Regions from separate parts of the Homo sapiens genome. Here region 2 is linked to region 1. Evidence: promoter capture Hi-C in human tissues and cell types (Jung and others, 2019). All regions are on one chromosome and are shown on one strand. The core of a region is centred on a gene start or on the middle of the fragment in contact, and the rest is flanking DNA. Distances in the headings are between cores, read along the strand shown.

Region 1 (5,345 bases), core at 759-3,258:
TGGGCTGTGATCCTTGACCCTCGGGCCCTCCACTCATATCAAATGGACCCTCTTGGGACTAGAGCCCCAGGAGGCAATGGCTGTGTGGGGTCCACCTTCACTATAGCCCTGGCCATCAGTCATCCCAAGTTAGAGCCCGGCTGCCCATGCAGTGCCGCTGTGGGAGGCACAGGAAGGCGGTGCTCAGTCTGAAGGTGGTTCAGGTCCGTACCTTAACTGAGCCCCCCCATGTACCCTCAACTGGCTCCTTTATGCAGTGAACACCCTGCACCACTGCAGCCCTATATCCAGGGCTGCGACTCAGTTCCTTCTCCCCTTCTCCCAGACTCTGGCAGACATACCTCAGATGGGGGCAGGAACCAAGAATGGCGGGGCTCCAGCCCCAGCTAGCCTGTCGGATAACTGCTGCATAAGTGACACCAGGAATCAGAGCCAGGCCAGGGCCACTGATGAGCCCTTGGATGCTCACTGTGTGATGCGTGCATTTGAAATATCTGACAGTAAGAGTGAGGCCTGGGAGAGATGCAGGGACTCTGAGGATGGGGGCCAAGCTGGGCTGAGAAACAAGTTAGTGGTGTCCTGCAGCAGCCCCTACAGCAAGTGCCAGCGTGGGAGGGAGGTGGGTAGGCATGGGGTGGGTGGTATGGCACTCACAGCACTGCCTGCAGACCACCACCTGACAGCTGGGCCGGTGGTGCCAGCTAATGGCTCCCTAGTTTTCTCGTAAGTCAGACGTGGCCAAAGCAAAACACTGAGCACACAGGTTGCCTTGAGGAGCAGTGACTGCCTCAAGAGCTCAGGGCTGAGGAGCTGGCTCCAGACAGCCTGTTGCCAATGTTCAGCAACATCACCCCACTCCTGGTTACTGATCGACCTGGTGTGCTCTTGAGAGTACCCCCACCAGGCCTCATGGGTCAATACTACTGTTATTGTTGCTATTGTTATTACCAGGCCCCGCCCTCCTAAAGCATTTGCATATTTTCATCCTTAATCACAGAACCAGAATCAGTATCTTCCAGAAGAGAAAACTGAGGCCCAGGAGAAAGCAAGAGGCTGTGCTGTGCTCCCAGGGCCTTCCTGGCTCGCTGTGGCTTTGAGCTCCAGGTCTCTCAGCTAGACAATGAGAACGTCGGCCCACGCGCGGCACAGTAAAAGCCCAAAATGCTATGATGGACGGGGTGGGCCGCTGGCTGCAGAGCCCTCCATACCACAGAGCATCTCTGGCTGGGAGAAAGGAGCAGGCTGAGGCCTGCAGCAGAGCGCGGGGTTGGGGACCGCTCCTGTTGGGCCCCAGCAAGGCGCCCTGAGACCCCTGCTCCATCCCTGCCGCTCCCCACCCGCCTGCTCCTAGCCTCTGTTCTAGCTCTGCCCGCGGCGGCCACAGCCTCCCCGAGCCGCCGGCCGGGCCCTCTGCTGCCCTCTGGCGGCCCGAGCGCGCGGTGCCGAGCTCCGCGCCTGAGGCCCTGAAACCCCGCGTCCGCCCGGCGGTCGCCTCCCGGGAACAAGAGCCCGGCTGGGGACCGGAGCGGAAGGGGGCTGGGGCTGGGGCTGTGCTCTGAGGACTGCAATATACGGTCCGCGCAAGCACTCAGCAAACGCTGCTGCGCTTACTGGGTTACTTACTAGATTCCTATTCTCTGGGGAAACTGAGAACCAAAGAAAATAAGTGTACGCGCGCGGGAGGTGCAGGAATGGGGGTCCTTGCCCGAAGTCGCAGAGGGACAGGGGCACCGCCGGGACCAGAACCCCGACGCCCCTGCGGCCGCCGAGCCCGCGGCAGTGGAAAAGCGGAGTCCGAGCGCCTCCAGCCTCAGCCCGACCCTGGACTGCTCCCCCCAGCCCCCGCGCCCAGAGAGCAGGAGCCCGGCAGCGGGTGACGAGGTCGCCGGGACTGGGAGCCGGTGCGGGGGAGGCGGGCCCCGCGGGGCGTGACGCACCGAGCTGGGAGGGCCGGGGCGGGGCAGCCGAGCAGGCTGCATATAAGGGCGGCGGCCGGGCGCCAAAGCCAGAGCAAGCGGCCTGTGCCCAGATCCTGGGAGAACCCCAGCCGAGCCCAGCCTAGCCCGAGCCCAGCCCGAGCGGAGCCGGAGCCCCAAGCCCGAGCCGCGCCCAGCCCGAGCAGAGCCCTCCAGCCGCTCACCCCGCGTGCCACCCCAGCGACCCTCAGCCGCTCTCTGCCCTTCTCTCGGCCCCGCGCCCGCCCTCGCGGCCCCTCTGCCCAATGAAACTGGCCGCGATGATCAAGAAGATGTGCCCGAGCGACTCGGAGCTGAGTATCCCGGCCAAGAACTGCTATCGCATGGTCATCCTCGGCTCGTCCAAGGTGGGCAAGACGGCCATCGTGTCGCGCTTCCTCACCGGCCGCTTCGAGGACGCCTACACGCCTACCATCGAGGACTTCCACCGCAAGTTCTACTCCATCCGCGGCGAGGTCTACCAGCTCGACATCCTCGACACGTCCGGCAACCACCCGTTCCCCGCCATGCGGCGCCTCTCCATCCTCACAGGTGAGCCGGGGGCCGGGCAGGTGCGGGAGGGAAGGGCGGGGAACCCTCGGCCAGGGCGCCCCGCGAGCGCCGGTCCGGCTGCCGCGCGCCGAGTAGTGCGCTTCGCGCTTAGAGAGGCTAGCGCGCCCCGCGCGGCCTCAAAGTCAGCCCGACTTGTCCCCTGGGCGGCCACCCTCACCTTCTCCTTTTCTGCTCTCTGTGCCCCCTCTAGGAGACGTTTTCATCCTGGTGTTCAGTCTGGACAACCGCGACTCCTTCGAGGAGGTGCAGCGGCTCAGGCAGCAGATCCTCGACACCAAGTCTTGCCTCAAGAACAAAACCAAGGAGAACGTGGACGTGCCCCTGGTCATCTGCGGCAACAAGGGTGACCGCGACTTCTACCGCGAGGTGGACCAGCGCGAGATCGAGCAGCTGGTGGGCGACGACCCCCAGCGCTGCGCCTACTTCGAGATCTCGGCCAAGAAGAACAGCAGCCTGGACCAGATGTTCCGCGCGCTCTTCGCCATGGCCAAGCTGCCCAGCGAGATGAGCCCAGACCTGCACCGCAAGGTCTCGGTGCAGTACTGCGACGTGCTGCACAAGAAGGCGCTGCGGAACAAGAAGCTGCTGCGGGCCGGCAGCGGCGGCGGCGGCGGCGACCCGGGCGACGCCTTTGGCATCGTGGCACCCTTCGCGCGCCGGCCCAGCGTACACAGCGACCTCATGTACATCCGCGAGAAGGCCAGCGCCGGCAGCCAGGCCAAGGACAAGGAGCGCTGCGTCATCAGCTAGGAGCCCCGCCGCGCTGGCGACACAACCTAAGGAGGACCTTTTTGTTAAGTCAAATCCAACGGCCCGGTGCGCCCCAGGCCGGGAGCGCGCGCGGACTGGCGTCTCCCCTCCCGGCGATCCGCCCCCAGCACTGGGGAGGCGCCACTGAACCGAGAAGGGACGGTCATCTGCTCCGGAAGGAAAGAGAACGGGCCAAGACTGGGACTATTCCCCACCCCCGGTCCCCCATTGAGGCCCGCCACCCCCATAACTTTGGGAGCGAGGGCCCAGCCGAGGGTGGATTTATCTTCTCAAAGACCTAAGAGTGAGCGCGGGGTGGGGGAGGGATGTGAAGTTATCCAGCCTCTGCTAGGCTTCAAGAAACCGTCATGCCCGCTTGAGGGTCAGGACCCACGGGGCATTATCTTGTCTGTGATTCCGGGTTGCTGTGACAGCCGGTAGAGCCTCTGCCCTCCCAAAACTAAGCGGGGGGGCGTGGGTCAAATCATAGCCAAGTGACTTGTTTACATGTGAGTGAAACTGCACAAAGGAACACAAAACAAAACTTGCACTTTAACGGTAGTTCCGGTGTCAACATGGACACGAACAAAACCTTACCCAGGTGTTTATACTGTGTGTGTCTGAGGTCTTTAAAGTTATTGCTTTATTTGGTTTTTTAATATACAATAAAATAATTTAAAATGGAAAACCGGTTTTTTTTTTTTTTTTTTTGCTTTTAGAGATGGCTGGAGTGGGGAAGGGTGGGGAGAAGGAAAGGGCTGGGCTTTGACTTAGGTGGAACTAGAACTTACCTTCCCCAGAACTGGAAAATAACCCTGGCCTTCTGAAGGCAGCTTCAGCTGCCAGAAAAGCCCCAGATGCCTGGGGCATCTATGTAGGGGATGGTTCCCTAGAAAACCGGGAAGAATATAAAGGATTTCAGGGTCCCCCCTGGAGATGAACTCTTTCTAGCCATCCACCCGCTTAATTTTCTTTGGGTTAGATGACAAAAGGCCTCATTTTCTGAGAGAATGTTCTGAATTCTTCAGCGTAAAAGCCACTGGAACTGTGCCTAACCATTTTGTCACCAGACTCAGTGTGGGCCCAGGCAAACTTTCGGACTGTTGGAGGCATCAGTCAGGCCCTGGGGAAAGAGCCTGAGACCCCATCTGGAAACAGGACCATCCTGGCGCGCCCCCACCACCCGCTCACTCCAGGGTGCCACCCTGTCTGGAAACAGCTAACTCCTCAGCCTCTGCTCCCCTCTAGCTCCAGGAAGTGCTCCTGGCCAGGTGTAGAGCCCCATCCCCCTTCAGCCTTGCTGTCTCCGTCTCATGGCTAAGGCACCCCAGAACACCAATCTCTCTGCCACTAGTACTGCAAACCTGTTGGTGGGTGACACCTGCCAAGCCTCTAATTCTTCACCCCGGGAAGAGAGAACACCCTCGGCATGGGCTCACTGTGGGGATTAAGTGTGATGTTTGAAAAGTACTTAGCATAAATGCCGGCCACCCAGTAATCCAAGTAATTGGTGGCTTTCAGAGGACGCTCAGCCCTGTGAGAGACACTCAAAATTGTCCTAGAAGGATTTCAACCCTGCTCTGGTGAGGGCGGCTCCCCACAGGACTGAACCTCCTCGAGTCACCAAAAGGCACCCCCCACCTCCCCCCTCCAAAAATAAAAGGCAACTAAGGACAGCCCAGGGATGACCCGCCAGGCAAACTGCCCTTGAGGCCAGCCGGGAGAGGAGTTCCTGTTCCACACTGGTTCAGCGGGTGTGTGTGCTGGGGCGGGTGTGTGTGCTGGGGCGGAGGGAGTGAGGAGCAGAGGTGTGGTTGTGTCTGAAGAGACTGAGAGAAACATTTTCCTCTCAACTATCTGAGAGCCATCCCACTATGAATTTCTCAGTACAAAAAGCATTATGTCCTGAGACAGCAGAGCATAAGTCCTTTTAATTATGTGTTTGAAAAATGTCACAAGTCAAAAAAGGAACACAAGGCAGGCTCCGGCTCCCTCCACCCCCGTGAGGAGCCCTTGTCCATTTCAGCCTTGCACTCAGAAAGACCCCGGGGGTCTTGTAGTTCCACG
Region 2 (5,345 bases), core at 1,514-4,013, 530 kb before region 1:
AAGGCCAGTTCTGCATGATCCTACAAAGCTAGGCTGATTTTTTTCATCTTTAAAGACAGGGTTACCATTGATGTCTGCTAACCATGTATTCACCGAGAACATGGAAGCTTCATAGGTTTCTGGTGGTCTCACATTTTGTCTTATGTGACATTGTTGGGGAACATGGATCCCCCAAACGAATTGTCCAGATCATGTTCTTTTTTTTTTTTTTTTTTGAGACAGAGTCTCATTCTGTCACCCTGGTTGGGGTGCAGTGGCGCAATCTTGGTTCACTACAACCTCCGCCTCCTGGGTTCAACTGATTTTCAGCCTCCTGAGTAGCTGGTATTACAGGCAGGCAATACCACACCTCGCCAATTTTTTAATTTTTTGTAGAGACAGGGTTTCACCATGTTGGCCAGGCTGCTCTTGAGCTCCTGGCTTTAAGTGATCTGTCCCCCTCGGCCTCACAAAGTTCTGGGATTACAGGCATGAGCCACCATGCCCGGCCCCAGATCAAGTTCCTGTATGCCTGTGTGGAGCCTTTACTTGGCTCCCTTTGCTGTCTTTGCAGTGATCTACATGTCCCCCATATGTGGCCCCATTGCCCTCTCTAGCATCTTAGAGAATCTTGCATTCTCCTTCTGACCATCTGTCTAGTCCACAACTGCTCTCTAGAAACCCTGGTCCTTCATGCAACCTGTTTCTTCATCTGGAAACTACTTCCACAGCCCTGCTCTGCCAAAAAAAAAAAAAAAAAATTGAATCAATCAGAAAGTTTGGTACCTCCTGCCTCACCTTCAAGTTGCAATTTAATTCTGACTAATCGTTCCACGTGCCTGCCCCATCACAGAAGTCACCTTATTGTTTGCCTGGTTTAGTGTCTGTATTCCTACTAGACAGTAAATGGCTGGAGAGTGCAGAGATGAGCTTTGCACATGTCCCATCCCCAGGACTTGTATGTCCTGGAACATGATCAGTACTCACCAAAGCTTGTTCCAAGACACGTTTGCCCCTCCAAGTGTCAGTGGGTCATTCAGGAGAGCCCCTGGCTAAAACACATCTATGTGCACCTGCCTTCTAATCTGAGGCCTGGCGGCCCCTGGGCTTCTTTTGCCCTTCTGCCGTCTCATTTTCTGCATGGTTTTCTTCTGCTTGGAGAAATTTTTGGTGGCTTCTTCCCTGCCCTCCATCTATCCCACTCCCATCTAGTTTTTTCTTATTCAGTTACAGAAGTGAGCCTGGCCAACAAAACAGAAAAAAGACTTCCCTCTTGGGAAACCTGGCTGTCCCAGGAGCTTTTGAAGGTTCAGCCCTGTGCTGGCAGTTCCTGCCTTGAGTCTGTTCGTCTGCCCCAGGTCTCTTGGGTTCACTTCCCAGACCGGGCCTGGAAGTATGCTAGAGTGCTCACTCTTGTACATTTGTACACTCTGCTGGCTCTTCCTGCTGACATGGGAAGACCCTTTCCCCAGTGTTGAGTCAGAGCTTTCAGAGCCCTTCCCAACTTCCTGCCTGGCCTGGCTTTTATACATGCAGCCCAGCCTGTTGCATTGGAAAACACAAAGGACATGGTCTACCTCACTCCAGACCTGAGAGAGGAAAGGAGGCCTCCAGACCCATGTCTAGCCTGCCATTTGGATATGACCAGGACAGCATGTAGAGAAATTTAAAAGCAGTAGGGTGCTGTAAACTTCTAATTTTAGTGTCAAACGTATGAGATAATCAGTGTTGTGATTTCAGATGAAGGTGCCATAGTAAGACAACATCATCTTGGTGGACAGATCTGATCCTAAAAAAACACTTTATTTTCTTTTTTTTGAGATGGAGTCTTGCTTTGTCACCCAGGCTGGAGTGCAGTGGTGCGATCTCAGCTCACTGCAAGCTCCACCTCCCGGGTTCACGCCATTCTCCTGCCTCAGCCTCCCAAGTAGCTGGGACTACAGGCGCCCGCCACCACGCCCGGCTAATTTTTTGTATTTTTAGTAGAGATGGGGTTTCACTGTGTTAGCCAGGATGGTCTCAATCTCCTGACCTCGTGATCCGCCCGCCTCAGCCCCCCAAAGTGCTGGGATTACAGGCGTGACCACCGCGCCTGGCCTAAAAAAACACTTTAAACTCTGTCTATTTTATTCACTCTTGTATCCCAAGTGCCAAGACACATGGTAGACACACACATATTTTTGTGGGAAAACAATTTGGGCCTTAGTTTAGTAAGTGCAAATGTGGAATGCAATTTTGGGCCCTCTGTCTGTAAGTATTAGTGATAGCAAATGAGATTTATAGAAAACTGATATGATGGGAAAACATAAAAATATTTGGAGTAGGCTGGGCGCAGTGGCTCACGCCTGTAATCCCAGCACTTTGGGAGGCTGAGGTGGGCGGATCACGAGGTCAGGAGATCGAGACCATCCTGGCTAACATGGTGAAACCCCGCCTCTACTAAACAAAATGCAAAAAATTAGCCAGGCGTGGTGGCAGGCACCTGTAGTCCCAGGTACTCGGGAGGCTGAGGCAGGAGAATGGTGTGAACCGAGGAGGCAGAACTTGCAGTGAACCGAGATCGCGCCACTGCACTACAGCCTGGGCGACAAAGTGAGACTCCATCTCAAAAAAAAAAAAAAAAAAGGCCAGGCGCGGTGGCTCACGCCTGCAATCCCAGCACTTTGGGAGGCCAAGGCAGGTGGATCACGAGGTCAGGAGATCAAGACCATCCTGGCTAACACGGTGAAACCCCGTCTCTACTAAAAAAAAAAAAAAAAAAAAAAAAGCCAGGCGTGGTGGCGGCGCCTGTAGTCGCAGCTACTCAGGAGGCTGAGGCAGGAGAATGGCGTGAACCTGGGAGGTGGAGCTTGCAGTGAGCTGAGATCGCGCTACTGCACTCCAGCGTGGGCAACAGAGTGAGACTCCATCTCAAAAAAAAAAAAAAAAGAAAAAGAAAAAAAATATTTGGAGTAAAACCAGTTGCCCACTTCTCCATTACCCTTCCCTGTCCATGCACACATACTAATTTCTCCTGAATTTTCATGGTCTATTTGAATTAATGAAATTTTAACTTAAGCTTGTTTTTTTTTTTTTTTTTTTTTTCCCCAAGAGACAGGGTCTTGTTCTGTTGCCCAGGCTGGAGTGCAGTGGTGCCATCACAGCTCACCTGAAGCCTCAGCCTCCTGGGCTCAAGCAATCTTCCTGCTTCAGCCTTCCTAGTAGCTGGGGACTACAGGCATGTGCCACCATGCCTAGCTAATTTTTAATTTTTCTTTTTTTTTTTTTTTTTTTTTTTGAGATGGAGTCTTGCTCTGCCACCCAGGCTGGAGTGCAGTGGCGTGATCTCAGCTCACTGCAGCCTCTGCCTCCCGGGTTCAAGCGATTCTCCTGCCTCAGCCTCCCGAGTAGCTGGGACTACAGGCATGTGCCACCACACCTGGCTAATTTTTGTATTTTTAGTAGAGATGGGGTTTCACCACATTGACCAGGCTGGTCTCGAACTCCTGACCTCAGGTGATCCACCCGCCTCCGCCTCCCAAAGTGCTGGGATTACAGGCGTGAGCCACTGCGCCCGGCCTCATTTTTGTATTTTTTGTAGAGATGGGGTCTCATGTTGCCCAGCTTGGGTCTTGAACTCCTGGCCTCAAGCAGTCTTCCCACCTTGGCCTCCCAAAGTGCTAGGATTATAGGCATGAGCCACTGCGACCAGCCTTTTTTTTTTTTTTTTTTTTTTTTTAGCGTTAAAGGCAAACTATTTGGCCGGGCATGGTGGCTCACGGGTTGGATCACTTGAGGTCAGGAGTTCGAGACCAACCTGGCTGGCATGGCAAAACTCTGCCTCTACTAAAAATTCAAAAATTAGCCTGGTGTGTTGGCGCATGCCTGTAATCCCAGCTACTCAGGGGACTGAGGCAGGAGAGTCGCTTGAACCCAGGAGGTGGAGGTTTCAGTGAGCTGAGATTGCACCACTACACTCCAGCCTGGGCAAGAGAGTGAGACGCCATTTCAAAAAAAAAATAATAATAAAATAAATAAATAAAGCAAATGATTTACTCTTTTTTCTTCCACATGCTGCATCATTATTTCCAATAAATAACTTCAGTTAGGGTCTCCAAAGACTTTGAGAACTCAGTGAACACATGAACGAGTGAACAAACGAATGAATGAATGAAAGTTTTGTGTTTGTCACAGATGTGAGAGACTGAGTTATAGCTTATAGCTTCCAAAATGTGACTTCTTTGTTATCAGTTGAGGGAATCTGCATAATTCCTTAGAAGTGCTCTTGGTTGTTAATCCCTCCAGGGTAAAAGAAGGAGACTGTTTCATGTAAGATTTTATTCAAGTTATTTTCAAAAGAAAACAAAGGACATAGATTTTCCCATTCTTGAAGGAAATGTTTGGAGTTCCTGTTGGATACACAAGCAAGCTGGTTAATTAGGTTAATTAATTGGAGAGAGGGGATGGGAAATGCCCTTGGGAGCTCTGTATCCTGCCGATGTATCACACACGCACACCCTGCGCACGCACACTGGCTTTCCACTCACTCCTTAGAGGCATCAGAGTCTTGCCTGAAATGGGTCTCTAGCTTTGTCCCACTCAGACACCGACTTTAGGTTTGAACTCGTTGTGCTGGCATGAGGTGGCACTGGTGGTGGGGAGGGTGGGAGAGCATGCCGAGATGCTCCTGATCAGACTTGTCCCCAGGCTGCGGGGCTGGCAGAGGTATGACCAGCATGTTCTGTTCCTCCCTTCTCCCTGGAGATCAGATGTTCCCTTCCCCCAGCTTTAATCAGAAGCGGTTGATTATACCGTGTTGAGTAGGGCAGACCTTGAATGGGGATATGAAAATCAAGCCAATCAATCAACATTAGCAGTAATGATACAAGCTGGTCCTGTCGCTTCCTGAGTTGTCTCAACGTTATTTTAAACTGCCTCTTTGAAAAATCTTTCTTACAGAAAGGAAGAGGTTTTATCAGAATGTCAGCATCACACAGGGTGAAGGTGAGTGTCTGAAATTTTGACTGCCTCTTTTTTTTTTTTTTTTTGTGAATGGTTGGGAACATTTTTCATCTTCAGCTGGTTTCATGGTGCGATTATCCTTCCTGCTTTTTGTGAGATATATTTCTGTAAGGGACTCAGAGTTGGCTTTGTCTGCACCAATTCAAGTGGCTAAATATAGGAATGGTCACTTGATTCCACTTAACAAATCCCTGAGAGTTTTTCATTTGATCTTTCAAGGTGGCTTTGAGATAAACCTGGACCACAGGAAGCTGAAAACTCCCCAAGCCAAGCTCTTTACCGTCCCCAGCGAGGCCCTGGCCATTGCAGTGGCTACTGAGTGGGATTCCCAGCAGGATACCATCAAGTACTACACCATGCACCTG

Evidence for each region. Contacts are between HindIII fragments. The study calls those that stand out against the background at their distance.
Region 2: a fragment that was not itself captured here is called in contact with the fragment with the promoter of RASD1 in region 1 in 1 of the 25 tissues and cell types used here (lymphoblastoid cells).

The regions. Positions count from the first base shown.
Region 1 is chr17:17,493,058-17,498,402 of GRCh38, reverse strand. It overlaps RASD1 (ras related dexamethasone induced 1), which reads left to right and starts at 2,008. Exons shown (of 2, transcript NM_016084.5): 1 at 2,008-2,507; 2 at 2,719-3,966. The coding sequence starts at 2,222. The coding sequence ends at 3,278. It overlaps MED9 (mediator complex subunit 9), which reads right to left. Exons shown (of 2, transcript NM_018019.3): 2 at 5,182-5,345. RefSeq lists silencers at 1,288-1,517, 1,568-1,697, 1,858-2,077. The HindIII fragment of the contact is 34,145 bases long and covers 1-5,345 here.
Region 2 is chr17:18,028,232-18,033,576 of GRCh38, reverse strand. It overlaps ATPAF2 (ATP synthase mitochondrial F1 complex assembly factor 2), which reads left to right. Exons shown (of 8, transcript NM_145691.4): 2 at 4,918-4,962; 3 at 5,200-5,345. Among named protein-coding and RNA genes, the nearest start is that of ATPAF2, 8.3 kb to the left of the region's middle. The HindIII fragment of the contact is 4,448 bases long and covers 540-4,987 here.